Regions from separate parts of the Homo sapiens genome. Here all the other regions are linked to region 3. The links are contacts of gene promoters, found by promoter capture Hi-C in blood cells and fetal thymus (Javierre and others, 2016). All regions are on one chromosome and are shown on one strand. The core of a region is centred on a gene start or on the middle of the fragment in contact, and the rest is flanking DNA. Distances in the headings are between cores, read along the strand shown. Region 1 overlaps ZNF404 (zinc finger protein 404). Region 2 overlaps ZNF45 (zinc finger protein 45). Region 3 holds the start of ZNF420 (zinc finger protein 420).

Evidence for each region. The method cuts DNA at HindIII sites, captures the fragments that hold promoters and counts their contacts. A CHiCAGO score of 5 or more calls a contact.
Region 1: a fragment that was not itself captured here is called in contact with the fragment with the promoter of ZNF420 in region 3 in 1 of 17 cell types (naive B cells); the score reaches 6.9 in naive B cells.
Region 2: a fragment that was not itself captured here is called in contact with the fragment with the promoter of ZNF420 in region 3 in 1 of 17 cell types (total CD4 T cells); the score reaches 8.3 in total CD4 T cells.

What each region holds. Positions count from the first base shown.
Region 1 is chr19:43,867,810-43,872,861 of GRCh38, reverse strand. It overlaps ZNF404 (zinc finger protein 404), which reads left to right. Exons shown (of 3, transcript NM_001033719.3): 3 at 1-497. The coding sequence ends at 307. Among named protein-coding and RNA genes, the nearest start is that of ZNF404, 14 kb to the left of the region's middle. The HindIII fragment of the contact is 3,147 bases long and covers 1-2,976 here.
Region 2 is chr19:43,921,984-43,926,634 of GRCh38, reverse strand. ZNF45 (zinc finger protein 45) reads left to right here. Exons shown (of 10, transcript NM_003425.4): 4 at 1,177-1,310; 5 at 2,074-2,233; 6 at 2,325-2,397; 7 at 4,418-4,464. The coding sequence starts at 4,450. ZNF45-AS1 (ZNF45 antisense RNA 1) reads right to left here. Exons shown (of 3, transcript NR_184050.1): 2 at 1,381-1,493; 3 at 1-349. Among named protein-coding and RNA genes, the nearest start is that of ZNF45, 11 kb to the left of the region's middle. The HindIII fragment of the contact is 2,032 bases long and covers 1,139-3,170 here.
Region 3 is chr19:37,076,753-37,081,281 of GRCh38, reverse strand. It overlaps ZNF420 (zinc finger protein 420), which reads right to left and starts at 2,849. Exons shown (of 5, transcript NM_144689.5): 1 at 2,712-2,849; 2 at 894-937. It overlaps LOC105372390 (a long non-coding RNA gene), which reads left to right and starts at 3,085. Exons shown (of 2, transcript XR_001754095.2): 1 at 3,085-3,184. RefSeq lists an enhancer at 2,774-3,013 and a silencer at 3,104-3,393. The HindIII fragment of the contact is 14,557 bases long and covers 1-4,529 here.

The DNA of each region.
Region 1 (5,052 bases), core at 154-2,653, 6.8 Mb before region 3:
TTCTCAACTAATTTATCATCAGACAATTCATACTGGTTTGAAACCCTATGTATGTAAAGAATGTAAGAAGGCCTTTCGTTCTATCTCAGGTCTTTCTCAACATAAGAGAATTCATACTGGTGAAAAACCCTATGAATGTAAAGAATGTGATAAGGCCTTTAATCGCAGTGATCGACTTACTCAACATGAGACAATTCATACTGGTGTGAAACCACAGAAATGCAAAGAATGTGGTAAGGCCTTTAGTCATTGCTATCAACTTAGTCAACATCAAAGATTTCACCATGGTGAGAGACTCTTAATGTAATGAGAGGGAAAGCCTTTAGCCATGGCACATTTTTACTGTTGTCACTATTATGATGCTATAGTGAAGATTAAACTAGTTAATATAGAATATAAATACTTGGAAAGGCATCTGGCACATCGTATTTGCTTACTAAATACATTATTTTTATGATAATTGTTAGAATTACTAAAAATAAATCTTATAGAAGGAAGACCCTATGAGTGTGATATTTTGAAAATGCTCTATCATCACTTCATATAATTTATTCTGGACAAAATCCTGTAGAATATATTAAATGAGAAATTTTTAAATTCAGAATTCATACCCCTGAAGATTAATGCTGGAATAAATAATGTGTATTTATTGAATAATGAAAGGATAGCTGTTGAAAATTAGAGAGTGGTTTAAAGAAATTTTTTCACAAATCCTATAATACAGATAACACATATTTTGCATCCTCTACAATTAAAATAAATTAGAAATGAACAGTTAGGTAGCCAAAAGACAGATATTAACTTGGAAAAGTTTTCCCTAAGTTTATGAAAATGTTAAGATTTACATCCTTACAGAAAAGGTAGCTGTTTACAGTGGTGCAGTGAAGGCTTGTTTGCCCTTCACCTAGTTTCAGTACATCTGATGTCTCTCTTTTTTATGTGTATACTAACACATATATACACACAAATACATATATACCATGCATGTCTTATGTCTATGTATATACACAGATGCATATATATATATATCATACTTATTACACATGAATATATGTATATATTACATATATCACTTTTCCTGTTTTTTGAGTGAATGTTTTAGGTATCATTCACCTCTAAAAAAAAGGCAACATACAACTGCTAGGATCAAAGATAATCTTCTAGATGTCTACTACACCATTGTCACAAAAAAATTAACAGTAACCCTATAATGTCTTAAAATATTCACTCCATTTGCAAATTTCTCCAATTTTTAAAATAATGTCTTTTAGCACTGTCTTTTTCACAAGCCAAGAACCAAACTAATCTCATATATTTTATATGATTATGGCTTATTAAGTCTCTTTTAGTCAAGAGCCTACCCTTCATCATTTTGTGACATAGACTTTTTGAAGACTTTAGATTTGACCTAAATAGTGTTGCACATGCTGTGTTTGTCTTATTGTTTCTGGAGGTGTGATTAACTTGTTTCTTTGTCCTCTATATTTACTGTGACCTGGAGGTTATGATTAGAGGCTTGATTGGGTTTCAGATTAAACATTTTCAAAAGACTACTTCATAGATAGTATCATGTACTTAATATTGTAAAGTATCAGGTGGCCTACAAGTGAAACTATGTTTTATCCCTTGATTCATGTATTGACCACCAGCTCCTTCCATTGTTATGGGTGAATTTTTTCTTTGCAATTAAATAAGTAATCCATGGAAAGTCATGTTGGAAATTTGAACAGTCTTCTGTATTCTATTTTTAGAGATGGGGTATTGCTATGTTGCCCAGGCTGGAATTCAGTGGCTATTCACAGATGTTATATAGCACACTACAGCCTTGAACTCCTGAGCTCAGGCAATCCTCCTGCCTCAACCTCTGGAGTAGCTGGGACTATAGGCACACAGTGCTACACCCAGTTGCTTAAAGAAATTAAGATGAAAATCCTCATCTTTTATATTTACCCATATATTTACTATTTCCCATGCTGTTTATTTCTTTCCAGAGATCTGAATTTTTCTCTGGTATCATTTCCCTACAGTTTGAGGAACTTAACTTAGCATTTCTTGGAGTGAACGTCTGCTGGTGATGAATTTTCATAGTTTCTTTTACTGAAATGCCTTTATTTTTTAAGGATTTCTTCTGGCTATAGAATTCTGGGTTGGCAGTTTTTTGGAGATATATGAATATATGTGTGTGTATATGCACACACACAAAGAATACACACACATATATATACTCATAAAGAGATATATATTGTTTCATATATGTATATATAAATCACCGACTTCTGGTCTTCAAGTCTCCATAGTTTACAAGAAGAAGTCATTTGAATTGTTTTTTCTCTTATGTAATGTGTCCTTTTTCTCTGGGTGCTTTCCAGATTTTCTTATTACTTTTGGTTTTCAGCTGTTTGAGTATGAGGTGCCTAGGTATGGTTTTCTTTGTGTTAATTCTGCTTGGGGTACTCTGAGCCTCTGAAATTTGCACACATGTGCCTTTCACCAAATTCCAGAAATTCTTGGCCATTATATCTTCAAATATTTTTTCTGCATTTACTCTACTCATACGTTAAATCTTTTGGTACTGTCCCACAGGTCACTGTCTTTGTTATTTATCTTCAGTATTTTTTTTCTGTTCTTCAGCTTGGACAACTTCTGTTACTCTGTTTTCAAATTCACTTATTCTTTTTCTCTGTCATTTCAGTTCTGCTGCTAAGCCTATCTATCAAATTGTTTAATTTCAGATATTACATTTTTCAGTTCTAGAATTTTCCTTTAGTACTTTTATAGTTCCTATTTCTTTACTAAGATTGCCTATTTCTTCATTGCATGCATCTTTTCACAAGGCTTTTCAGTCCTGTTAAAATCCTCTATATATTGATTCATGCTAGAAAAATATATAAAATCATTATTATGAACTTATACAGTGAAAAGTTTTCATTTCAATGAATGTTCCTATTATTTTCACTAGGTCACGAAAAAAAAGCTTTCCTTTCCTTGGAGTTTCAGATTTTGCTTATTCATATGCAATGTGATACTGGTGAGAAAAAAAATCACTGTCTTCTTTTTCCTTTATTATTAAATATTTGGAAAACTTTCTTTAAAGAAAATCTTGAACTGGAGTTCAAAGTACGAGAAATCTTTGTAAATGTCTTACACCATTAAACAGATGAGCATTGGGAAAGAACATAAGATTAATTGTTCTCTATTTCTTTTTTGTTTTGTTTTGTTATGTTTTTTTGAGACGGAGTCTCACTCTATCACCTAGGCTGGAGTGCAGTGGCGCGATCTCGGCTCACTGCAAGCTCCGCCTCCCAGGTTCATGCCATTCTCCTCAGCCTCCCGAGTAGCTGGGACTACAGGTGCCCACCACCACACCTGGCTAATTTTTTGTAGTTTTAGTAGAGACGGGGTTTCACCGTGTTAGCCAGGATGGGCTTGATCTGCTGACCTCATGATCGCCCCCCTCAGCCTCCCAAAATGCTGGGATTACAGGCGTCAGCCACCAAGCCTGACCTCTATTTCTTTTAACAGTTCCATGAAGTAGTCGTGATTCATAATATTTACATGTATATACTTCATAGGTATATTCTTTATACAGTAGAGCAAAGCAGTTAGGGAGACATCAGTCTCTTGCATTAAAATTCCAAGGAATTCAGATTTTTAACCTAATACAGCTGGTGTATCATCTATTGTGATAGAAATATTTTTTGATACCTAACAGAAATTTTTCTTTGACAGATATAAAAGACAAAAATATCTATGTCATGACTCTGGTTTTGTAGGCTGCGAATTGACAGCTTTTTTTATTTGGGGATCTTTTGAGACAAAATGTACCCACAGTATCAATTGGGCTAAATTATCTTATATTGCACAACTCATATATGGCTAAAGAAGAGTACTTGAAGCTTTTGCTAACTTTGAATTAATTGATCCATGATATTGTTAGAAATATCTTGTATTCTATGAGCAGTTTTTAGGTGACTTAATTTTTTTTTACTTTTTATAAGATCATTTTAGTCTTTCTCAGAATATGCTAACAAGATTTTTGCAACCAAACTAATAATTTATCTTATCTCTATATCCAACATTTCTTTTTTGTGCAAGAATCAGAGCCATTTTATAGCTCAAAAAGGTTATAAACTCAGATTCTGTTTAAAAATTGTTTAAATATTTTGGTTGGACATTTAATTCTAATTTCAGGCAACTAACTTCATCTATTCCATTTTGCTTCTCAAGAGAAAACGTCTCATCAAATTTACTATGTATTTGCTGAAAATGTTTCACAATATTTTTCTCTTTAACAATTTAATTTGTTATGTAATAAACAGCTTTTTTTTTTTGCTCTCTCACAGCAAATTGCAATTGACATTCATCATGAAATTCATAGTATATTATCTTCCAGGCTCATTTTTTACAATTCTGACCATAGTACTGGTCTCCACTCAATTCTGTGTAATATGCCTTCATTTATTTTAAATTTTAAATTTTGTCCATACTTACTTTTCAACCTAGAATAATAATTTAATTATAAAGTACTAAGTATTTCCATTTAATTACTAATAATTATTTCCTTAGTATCACTGTAACTCTTCTTCTTTTTGAAGTATTCAAATAAATACATCAAGGCAGGGCACAATGGCTCACACCTGTAATCTCAGCATTTGGAAGGCTGAGGCAGGCGGATCACTTGAGGCCAGGAGTTCTTGGCCCGGCCAACATGGCAAAACCCCGACGTTACTAGAAATACAAAAATTAGCCTGGTGCAGTGATGCATGCCTGTAATCCCAGCTCCTCAGGAGGCCGAAGCACAAGAATTGCTTGAACTTGGGAGGCGGAGGTTGCAGTGAGCCGAAATGGTGCCACTGCCCTCCAACCTGGGCAACAGAGTGAGCTCTTGTCAAAAACAAAAAATAAAACAAAAAAAAAAACCCAGAGCTAATACTTTCCATGAATGTTTCCACGTAAGGACTCATCCCCAACTCATCAAAAATTCAGAGTATCTGCAACAGGAAGACACTTACAGAACATTTCCATCATTCCTAAAAGTTCTCTCTTGCTTCT
Region 2 (4,651 bases), core at 905-3,404, 6.8 Mb before region 3:
GGAATTGCCAGCTTCCTCATCACTAGACTGTGAGCATCTTGAGGCTGGGGAATTGCATCTCTTTTAGTAAGGTTCCCACAAGTCTTCACTGAGTTAATAAACTCATCTATTTAATGAAGTAGTAATAAATTCACCTGTCTAGTGCTAATTATGCAGGCAGTAAAATAGTGTTCATTCTCAGTATTTTAAGGGACACATTCTGTGGGTTCTGTAACAGTGACTCATGTCGTCGCTGACTTTGAAGAGCAGAGAGTACTTTCCTAAGATGGTATTTAACAAAATCCAGAGATGCTTTTCCTTCCAAAGATGACTCTGATCTTGCCCAAGGACAGCAAATATGGTGAAAGACCTAGAGGAAAAATTTGGAAATAAAACCCTTGCTCTCCAAATCTTCCCAACTGGAGTCAGTCTCAGGGAGACTTAGACCAACTAGTCTAGTCTTCCTATATGCCTCTCCATGTCTGATGGTGGGTTCAGTCATTTCTGCTGGGCAATTACTTTGTACAGGAACTGTTTTAGGTACTTGGGATATAAAGCTGAATAAACATTCATCACAAGACAGATGGTTGATTTGCTATTATCTCTTTTTTTTCCCGAGGCGATGGAAATATATCCCCTGCAAAACATTCTTACTGAGCAGAGGTTGCTGGGCAAATATAGAGTTAGAACAAAGTGAATTACAAATTCTAAAAGAGTATTTCAGGCTGGGTGTGGTGGCTTACGCCTATAATCCCAGCACTTTGGGAGGCCAAGGCGGGTGGATCACTTGAGGTCAGGAGGTCGAGACCAGCCTGGCCAAAATAGTGAAACCTCATCTGTACTAAAAAAACAAAAGAAACAAAAAAAATTAGCCAGGAATGGTGGCGGGTGCCCATAATCCAGCTACTGGGGAGGCTGAGGCAGGATAATCTTTTGAACCCGGAAGGCTGAGGTTGCAGTAAGCTGAGATCATTCCACTGCACTCCAGCCTGGGCCACAGCGCAAGACTCCATTTCAGAAAAATAAATAAATAAGTATTTCTTCTAAGATTGGAAGGTTTTATGTTTCCCTTTTCAATAGTAAGGGTTCTTCTATCTGAAGTAAGAGAACTAAGAATAATTTACTAATAAATCAAGCAGTAATTAACTAATACTAAGCTTTTAATCTGGGTATTTTACTCGTTTCCACCCTCCATAGAATCAGAATCATACCCTGAGAGCTACAAGAACTCCATTTTTCACTGTGCAGAGGCTCTCTGCTGAAGGGTCAAGTGGAATCTGGAATCCAGCCCATGTTTCCCCATCATCAAGCCATGTGAAGCTGCAGACTCCGTGAGTGCCTTAGTCCATTTGTGCTGCTATAACAAACAATACCATAGGCTGGGTGGCTTAAACAACAAACCTTTATAACTCACAGTCCTGGAGACTGGGAAGTCCATGATCAAGTCACTGGCAAATCCAATGTCTAATGAGGCCACTCTTACTGGTTCGCAGAAGCTGTTGTCTTGTATCTTCCTGGGAGGAAGAGAGAAAGAGCTAGGTTACTTGCTTTTCTTACAAGGAAAGCAATCCCATTATGGAGGCTTCACCCTCATGACCTAATTACCTCCTAAAGGCCCCACCTCCCAATAACATCACATTAGGGCTTCAACATAAGAATTTTGAGGGGACACAGACATTGGTCCACAGCAGCAAGGGAGGGGCTCCCTGACTGTTTCATGTAAAGCATCTGCATGGGTTTATGTGTAACTTCTATTGATTGTTTAAGCTGCCAGAAACTGTTCCACATGTTTTGTGTATACTTAGTCACTTTCACTGACCTTCCTATGAAGTAGGTATTATTATTACATCCAGTTTATAGATTAGACATTAGAGCACAAAGTACTAGCAAGTTGGACATGCCTGTATTCCAGTACTGGTGGGCTGGTTCTGGAGTCTAGACTGTTCACAACTCTGTTCTCTACTCCCTCAAGCAGCTCCCTTGGCTTCAGAGTCCAATCTCCATTTCTGTGTCTGTCTTTTACCCCTAACTCTGGAGCCCTCATTTCTCCTTCCATGAGATCTTAGACTCCCATCTGCTTATTTTTGTCTTTAGAAGCAACAGAGAGACAAGATTTAGAATACTGGCTCTGGTATGAAAGCTGGATTCAGGTACTGTTCCTGCCTCTTGACCTCACCAAGCCTCAGCTTCCTCGCCTGTTAAATGGATACAATTGTCGTCATTATCATCTGTTGAGAACTCCCTAAAATGCCAGGTACTATGCCAAGGGCATTGCATAAATTCACTCATTGATTCCTCACAGTAATCCTATGATTAACATCCTGTTTTCATTTCCCTTCTTATAGCTGAGCATAGGCACAGAAGTTTAGGTGTTTGGACCAAGGTCACACAACTGATACAACAGTAGCTTCTTCACAGGTATGTGTGAAGTACCTTAATGAAACATCATGTGCCAAGTTCTTCATAAGGTCCCTAATATGTATTTAGTTAAATATCACCATTTTTGTTGTTATTATTGTGCTTCCTATAGCTTGTTAATTTCAGTGACATTATCTAATTTATAGTTGCATAAATCTTGCAGAGTCATGATTTTTTATTAAATTTTCTCTGTCTCTATGATAGTCTTTTTAAGGCCCTACTGTTAAAGTAAATTTTGCAAGGTCTTTTTTTTTTTTTTTAGATTTTTTTTTTTTCTCTTTAGAGATCACTCTGTTGGCCAGGTTGGTCTTGAACTCTTGGCCTCAAGCAGTCCTCCCACTTTGGCCTCCCAGAGTGCTAGGATTACAGGCATGAGCCACTCTACACAGCCAAATTTTGCAAGGTCTTATACCTTTTAGAAACCAGTCCATATAGTCAAATTCATAGAGATAACGTGGTTATCAGGGGCTGGGAGGGGGAATGGGGAATTATTACTTAATGGGTACATAAAAAATTCTGATGATGGATAGTGGTGATGGCTGCACAACAATGTAAATGTACTTACTGAATGTAACCACTTAAAAAATGGTTAAAATGGTAAATTTTATGTTACATATTTTACTATCAAAAAAAGCAGTCATCTATGTACAGTAGTCCCCCCTTATCCACAGCAGATACCTTCCAAGTCCCCCAGTGAATGACTTAAACCTCAGATATTACTGAACCCTAAATATACTATGTTTTTCCTTTACCTACATACTTATGATAAAGCTTAATTTATAAATTAGGCACAGTAAGAGACTAACAACAATAACTTATAATAAAATAGAATAATGATAAAATACTGTAACAAAAGTTCTATAAACATGGTCTCTCTCTCTCTCTCAGAATATCTTACTGCACTGTACTCACCTATTTTTGGGCCATAGTTGACTTCAGGTAACTGAAACCACAGAAAGCAAAACTATGGATAGGAAGGACCACTGTAATCTTAAATACTATTGCAAAAGCCTCAAATTAAGTATGGGAAACCAAGAGAGAATAACAGGTATTTCAGAGGTTAAAGGCGAGGTTAAAGTAGAGGTTAAAAAACCTCTACTAAAGAATTCATCAGCTGAGTGTGGTGGCTCACACCTGTAATCCCAGCACTTTGGGAGGCTGAGGCAGGAGGATCACTTGAGCTCAGGAGTTTGAGACTGGCTCGGGCAACATAGCATGACCTCGTCTCTACAAAAAGTAAAAAAATTAGCTGGACATTGTGGTGCACACCTGTGGTCCCAGCTACTTGGGAGGCTGAGGTGGGAGGATCGCTTGAGCCCAGGAGGTCAAGGCTTTAGTGAGTCATGATTGTGCCACTGCACTCCAGCCTGGGCAGCAGAGCAAGACCCTCTCTCAAAAAAAAAAAAAAAAAAAAAAACAAAGAATTTATTGGTAGAAACCATTAATGAGCACAGGTTTTATGTTATGTGCTTTTCTGCAGCTAAGAAATAAGGTACTCTGAAAATATTCTTTGAGCTTTTTCCCTCATTTAATTTGTAAACAATCCTATGAGATTGTTAATTCTCTCATTGTTAATCTCTTCATTTTATGGATGAAAGAACTGAGGCACAGAGATATTAATAATTTGTCCTGGATTTCATAGCGAATAAATAGCAATGCCATAAATCTAGGCATTTGGCTCCAGAGGGGCCAAATACTCTTAATCTGGGTATTTTACTCTCAATTTCTACTCTCCCTAGAATCAGTCATACCCTGAGAGCCACAAGGAGAAATTATGTTGGGGGCATACTCTGTGTGGTCGGGCAGGTCACTTGCTGCCAGGGTCTTACAGCCAAAGGGACAAGTAGTATCTGGAATCCAGCCTAGTTTCTGTTCATCAAGCCAGCCCGAGGAAGGAACACTGTTGCTATTTCACGTTAAAAAAAACAAAACAAAACAAAAAAACAGCTATGGTTTTTTTTTTGGCCAAACTCTCATGGCTTTTTTCTCCTTCCCTCATGTTTTCTCCTTCCCTCTTAAGACTTGGCACTTCTCCAGAAGGAGGAGGACAAAATGACGAAGTCTAAGGTGAGTTGGACCTCCCTTTCTCCGTAATAATTGTCATCTCATTTCGGAAAGATTACATACACCTTATTCTCTTTGTTAGGAAGATGAAGGAGAACGGTAGACATTTGAGAACCTCTTGTGTGCCAAATGCTTGCTGCTTTTTACTTTTGTGTTGTTTAATTTTTGTTGCTTTATTTTATGACTTTAT
Region 3 (4,529 bases), core at 1,600-4,099:
AAAAGGATTAAAATCATATGAAGTATATTCTGTGAACACAATGTAATGAAATTAGAAATCAGTAACAAAAGATCTCTGGAAGATCCTCAAAATATTTGAAAACATGACACATCAAAATAACCTATAAGTCAAGAAATCAAAGGGGCAAATTAGAAAGGATTTTGAACTGAAGGTAGAATAAATGAAACAAGATTGGAAAGTAATCGCTTTTTTTTTTTTTTTTTTGAGACAGAGTCTCGCTCTGTTGCCCAGGCTGGAGTGCAGTGGCGCAATCTCGGCTCACTGCAAGCTCTGCCTCCCAGGTTCACGCCATTCTCCTGCCTCAGTCTCCCGAGTAGCTGGGACTATGTGCATCCACCACCACGCCCAACTAATTTTTTTTTTTTAATTTTTAGTACAGACGGGGTTTCACCTTTTTCCAGGATGGTTTCGATCTCCTAACCTCGTTCCATCCGCCTCGGCCTCCCAAAGTGCTGGGATTATAGGCATGAGCCACCACACCTGGCCGTGATCGTTTTTAAGCTAGGCATATTCATTATACTTTTGTGTACATTTGAAACTTTCCATAACAAGCTAAAAAAAGTTAAAAAATCAAAATGGTGCTGTATCAGAAATAACACAATAGAGCTCTTTCCCTTTTTAAATAACACAATAGAGCTATTTCTCTCTTCCCCTTTTTAAATCCATGAGTCTCAAATCCATTCTTCGTAAATTTAACCACTATTGGGGAAGCATCTATCCCGATTAATGGCACATTTTCTTTGCTCTCAATCTACCAAAAATTGCCTTGCCCCTCTATCATTTGAGAAGGCAAGAAATTTCAAAAAGAAAACAAAAATGTCTATGTCCTGTAATAACAAAGGTATTTCAGGAAACAAAGAGGAAATACTCACCTTGGACATTGCTACTGAAACAGCCATTCTTTCTCCTCTGGGCTCTACTCTCAGAAAAAGAAAAATGGAATGAGATATTAGGCCTTTCTTGGGGAATATGCTAAATTATAACATACCCTCTTCCTCCATCCTCTTAATCTCATTTAACATAAAGAAAAGTCAGGAGGAGACTAGAATAAGTCTTCTACCTTCTGTATCAGAAAGAAGGGCCAGGTCACAGCTGTCTTGGGCTTGAATTTATTTCTGTATTCAAAGCTGTACACTGGAGACAGTCCTGCAGTGGGGTGCTTCAGGTTCAGAACTGGGTGGCTGTCTCCTAAAGCACTCCCTCTGAAACTATTCCCACTCCTGGAGTCCCATTATATTTCCAGTGGCCTATTTATTTATTTATTTAGAGAATGAGTTTCACTCTTGTTGCCCAGGCTGGAGTGCAGTGGCTTGATCTTGGCTCACTGCAACCTCCGCCTCCCGGGTTCAAGCAATTCTCCTGCCTCAGCCTCCTAAGTAGCTGGGATTACAGGCATGCGCCACCACGCCCAGCTAATTTTGTATTTTTAGTAGAGGTCATGGTGAAACCATGACCTCAGGTAATCCACCCGCCTCTGCCTCCCAAAGCGCTGGGATTACAGATGTGAGCCACCGCGCACAGCATCCAGTGGCTGTCTTGAAGGTATTATCAGCCCTAAAATTCTCATCCTAAGACCAGGTCTGTAACTTGCAAATAACTCCTATTCATCACTCAGGTGTCCAAATGTCTGACTTCCTTACTTCTTGCCACTTCCCTGCACCCAATCCCCTTAAGGCTATAAGGCAAGAGGACGCAGGGAAGAAGTCGTGAACTCGTAAGTAACTACATTTCCCAAGGTGAACCGAGGATGGATACAGAAATGAAGCAATACAGGCCATGGATGAAAGGGCAGCCACTGTGGTCAAATCAAAAAGTCCTTAAGTCCTCAGAGCCACATGGGAGGAGCACAGAGCCACATGGGACTCACAATCCATAGGCAGACCTCAGCCCCAAATGAACCCCAGAAATACCAAAAAGAAATTTACTTCTGTACTGGACTAAACCCCCATAAGGTCACAGAATATACAAATGGCCACATAAAGTCACACATAATCACATTTCCACAGTTACACAGCTAGAGGCACAATCACCCAATTATGCTACATTGTTAGACCACCTTGTCTCAAACAAAATCCCATTAAGTACAAGGCATATAATTACATCCAAGCACCTTGTCAGAGACACATACCGCCAAAAACACCCTTTCAAAGCTGCAATTTTAGTCTCTTTACACAGTCATGAAAACAGCACACACAACCCCACAGTCACACACAATCAGACAGTCACCCAACCCAGTACGAAATCAGGGAAACACGCGGTAATAAACACCGTGTCACAGCAACACTGTCACACACCTTAAATTTACTGGCAAATCCATCCCACGATATCAGGTTTACACACAACCTCAAAGTGACACAAGAACATCCAAACACTCTTGTCACAACTGTCACACACTTCATAGTCACAGGCAAACCCCAATTATACACGCGGCACACATAAAATCACAGTCACATAAGTATATCCCAGCCAGGTAAGCAAACAGTCACAAACACCCTCAGAGTCACAACTCACACTCATACAAATGCTCATACACAAAACCACAGCCACACACGTCCAGTCGTGTATGCACAGGCAGTCGCCAATACCAGGCAGGCTGTAGCCTGCACACAAAACCGGAGACACGGCCACACGAGTAACCCCAGCGACGCTTTCTCCGCGCGTGTCCGCTCCGGCATCCCGGACACTCCTACCTTGACAGAGGTGCAGTTCAGGGTCCAAGATCTGGCTCCCGGGTTCCAAGCCCAATTTCGGGTTCGCCAGCCCAGCAGGTGCGGAGCCAAGCTCCTCCACAGACGCGGCCCTCTCCCCACGCGAGGCCTCCAAATCTCGCAAACTAACGGAAATGAAGCTACGCTCCGGGAGCGGTGCCTCTGGGAAATGTAGTCCAGCGCTCCGGACGCCGTGCCTCTGGGAAATGTAGTCCAGCGCTTGGCTAGCCGGCCAGAACGCCAGGAGGCCCGGGCCGCTCACCCCTCGAGGGGCTCGTGGGCTCGGCCTGTGGAACCTGCTTGTCCCGCCTGCAGCGCCCCGGAGGTTTCTGGGAGTGCCCGCCCGCCCGCGCTCAGTGCGCAGGCGTCAGACGCTCAGGGCCTGCGAGAGCGAGCTGAGTGGTCCCAGGGTCTACCCCTGGCAGGAGAGAGGGTGGGACCCGCCGGCCAGGCAGGTGCGGGGGAGGAGCTGGGGCCGGTGCGGGGACCCGCCGGAACCTCGGATTTGCAGAGGACCCTGTGTGTGCCCTCCCAGGCCCTTGGGGTGTGTGTGACAATGGGAGATGCCAGGTGGACTGAGAGTCTTTCCGTGGCCGGGTGTGTATGGTTGTGTTTCTGCCTGTGTGTGATTCTTCCTGCTGTGGGGTGTGAGGTGATTTGTACTTTAAGCTGCGTAGTAATGGGATTTTATAACTGTGTAGAATCGTCTAACAGAGTAAGACGATTTTACACAGATCTCTATTGTGGTTTGCTTATGAAGGGTATCTGTATGTATATCTGCTTTTTTGTGTGTGGCCGTAATTGAGTAACTGGTGATCTGTGTTATATAAACGTGCTTTCTTTGTGCTTGTATTTCAGTGTCTGTAAGGGTGCCAAGAGCAAATGAGCTGTGTGTGATCGTGTGTGACAGTGAAAATACTATGGCCAAGTTATTTCTTCCTTAAATAGTAATGTAATAATCTGGAAAAGATAATCAATTTATCTGACAAGTAATTTAGACATCATTTTTCTATTGGATCAAATATATGTGTTATCGGGAAGAATCCAAAATTAACGTAGTTTTTTCTTTGTTTTTAGAAAGATTATTTCAAAACCAGTCCTAGGGTAACTGCCTTTTCCTCTGCCACAGCAGGCCAAAAGTAGATATCCATTATTTTCTAATTAGAGGGTAAAGTTTCTCTTATTACTGGGTACGGTTGAGAGGCCATCAACTAATAAAATAATAAAACAACGTTATACATAAGAAGAGTGAATTTTAGCACAGTACAGCACTAGTCAGATTTCCCAAATTCTAGGTCAAACACTTGTCCTCATTTTCTGATGAGAAAACCTTGGCCGGCAGAAAGTAACTTAAGGCTGTAGAGTTTGTTGGTAAACCTGAACTTATTTTTACTTACTTCAAGACCTCTTGGCCTTTTATGATTTTTGAATAATCAAAAACTTGTGAACTTCCAGCACAGAGAAGATAGAGTATAATTTCACCACTCCTTCAGAGGGAAAAAAATTAATAAAACTTGGTCTTGCAAGACCATATATCAAATACATTGATCTCTTACCGGTAATGTGACTGGAATAGCAAATTTGGTGATCAGAATTCTTGAGGGAATGAACCTGTGTGTGTGATCAGGCATAGCTATGTGAAATATAGATAATTAAATTGCACTGAGTTAGAGTGGGTCAAAGTCAGGCAAGAATTATGTCCAATTCACATGCACACGTATGTTTATTGCGGCACTATTCACGATAGCAAAGACTTGGAACCAACCCAAATGTCCATCAATGATAGACTGGATTAAGAAA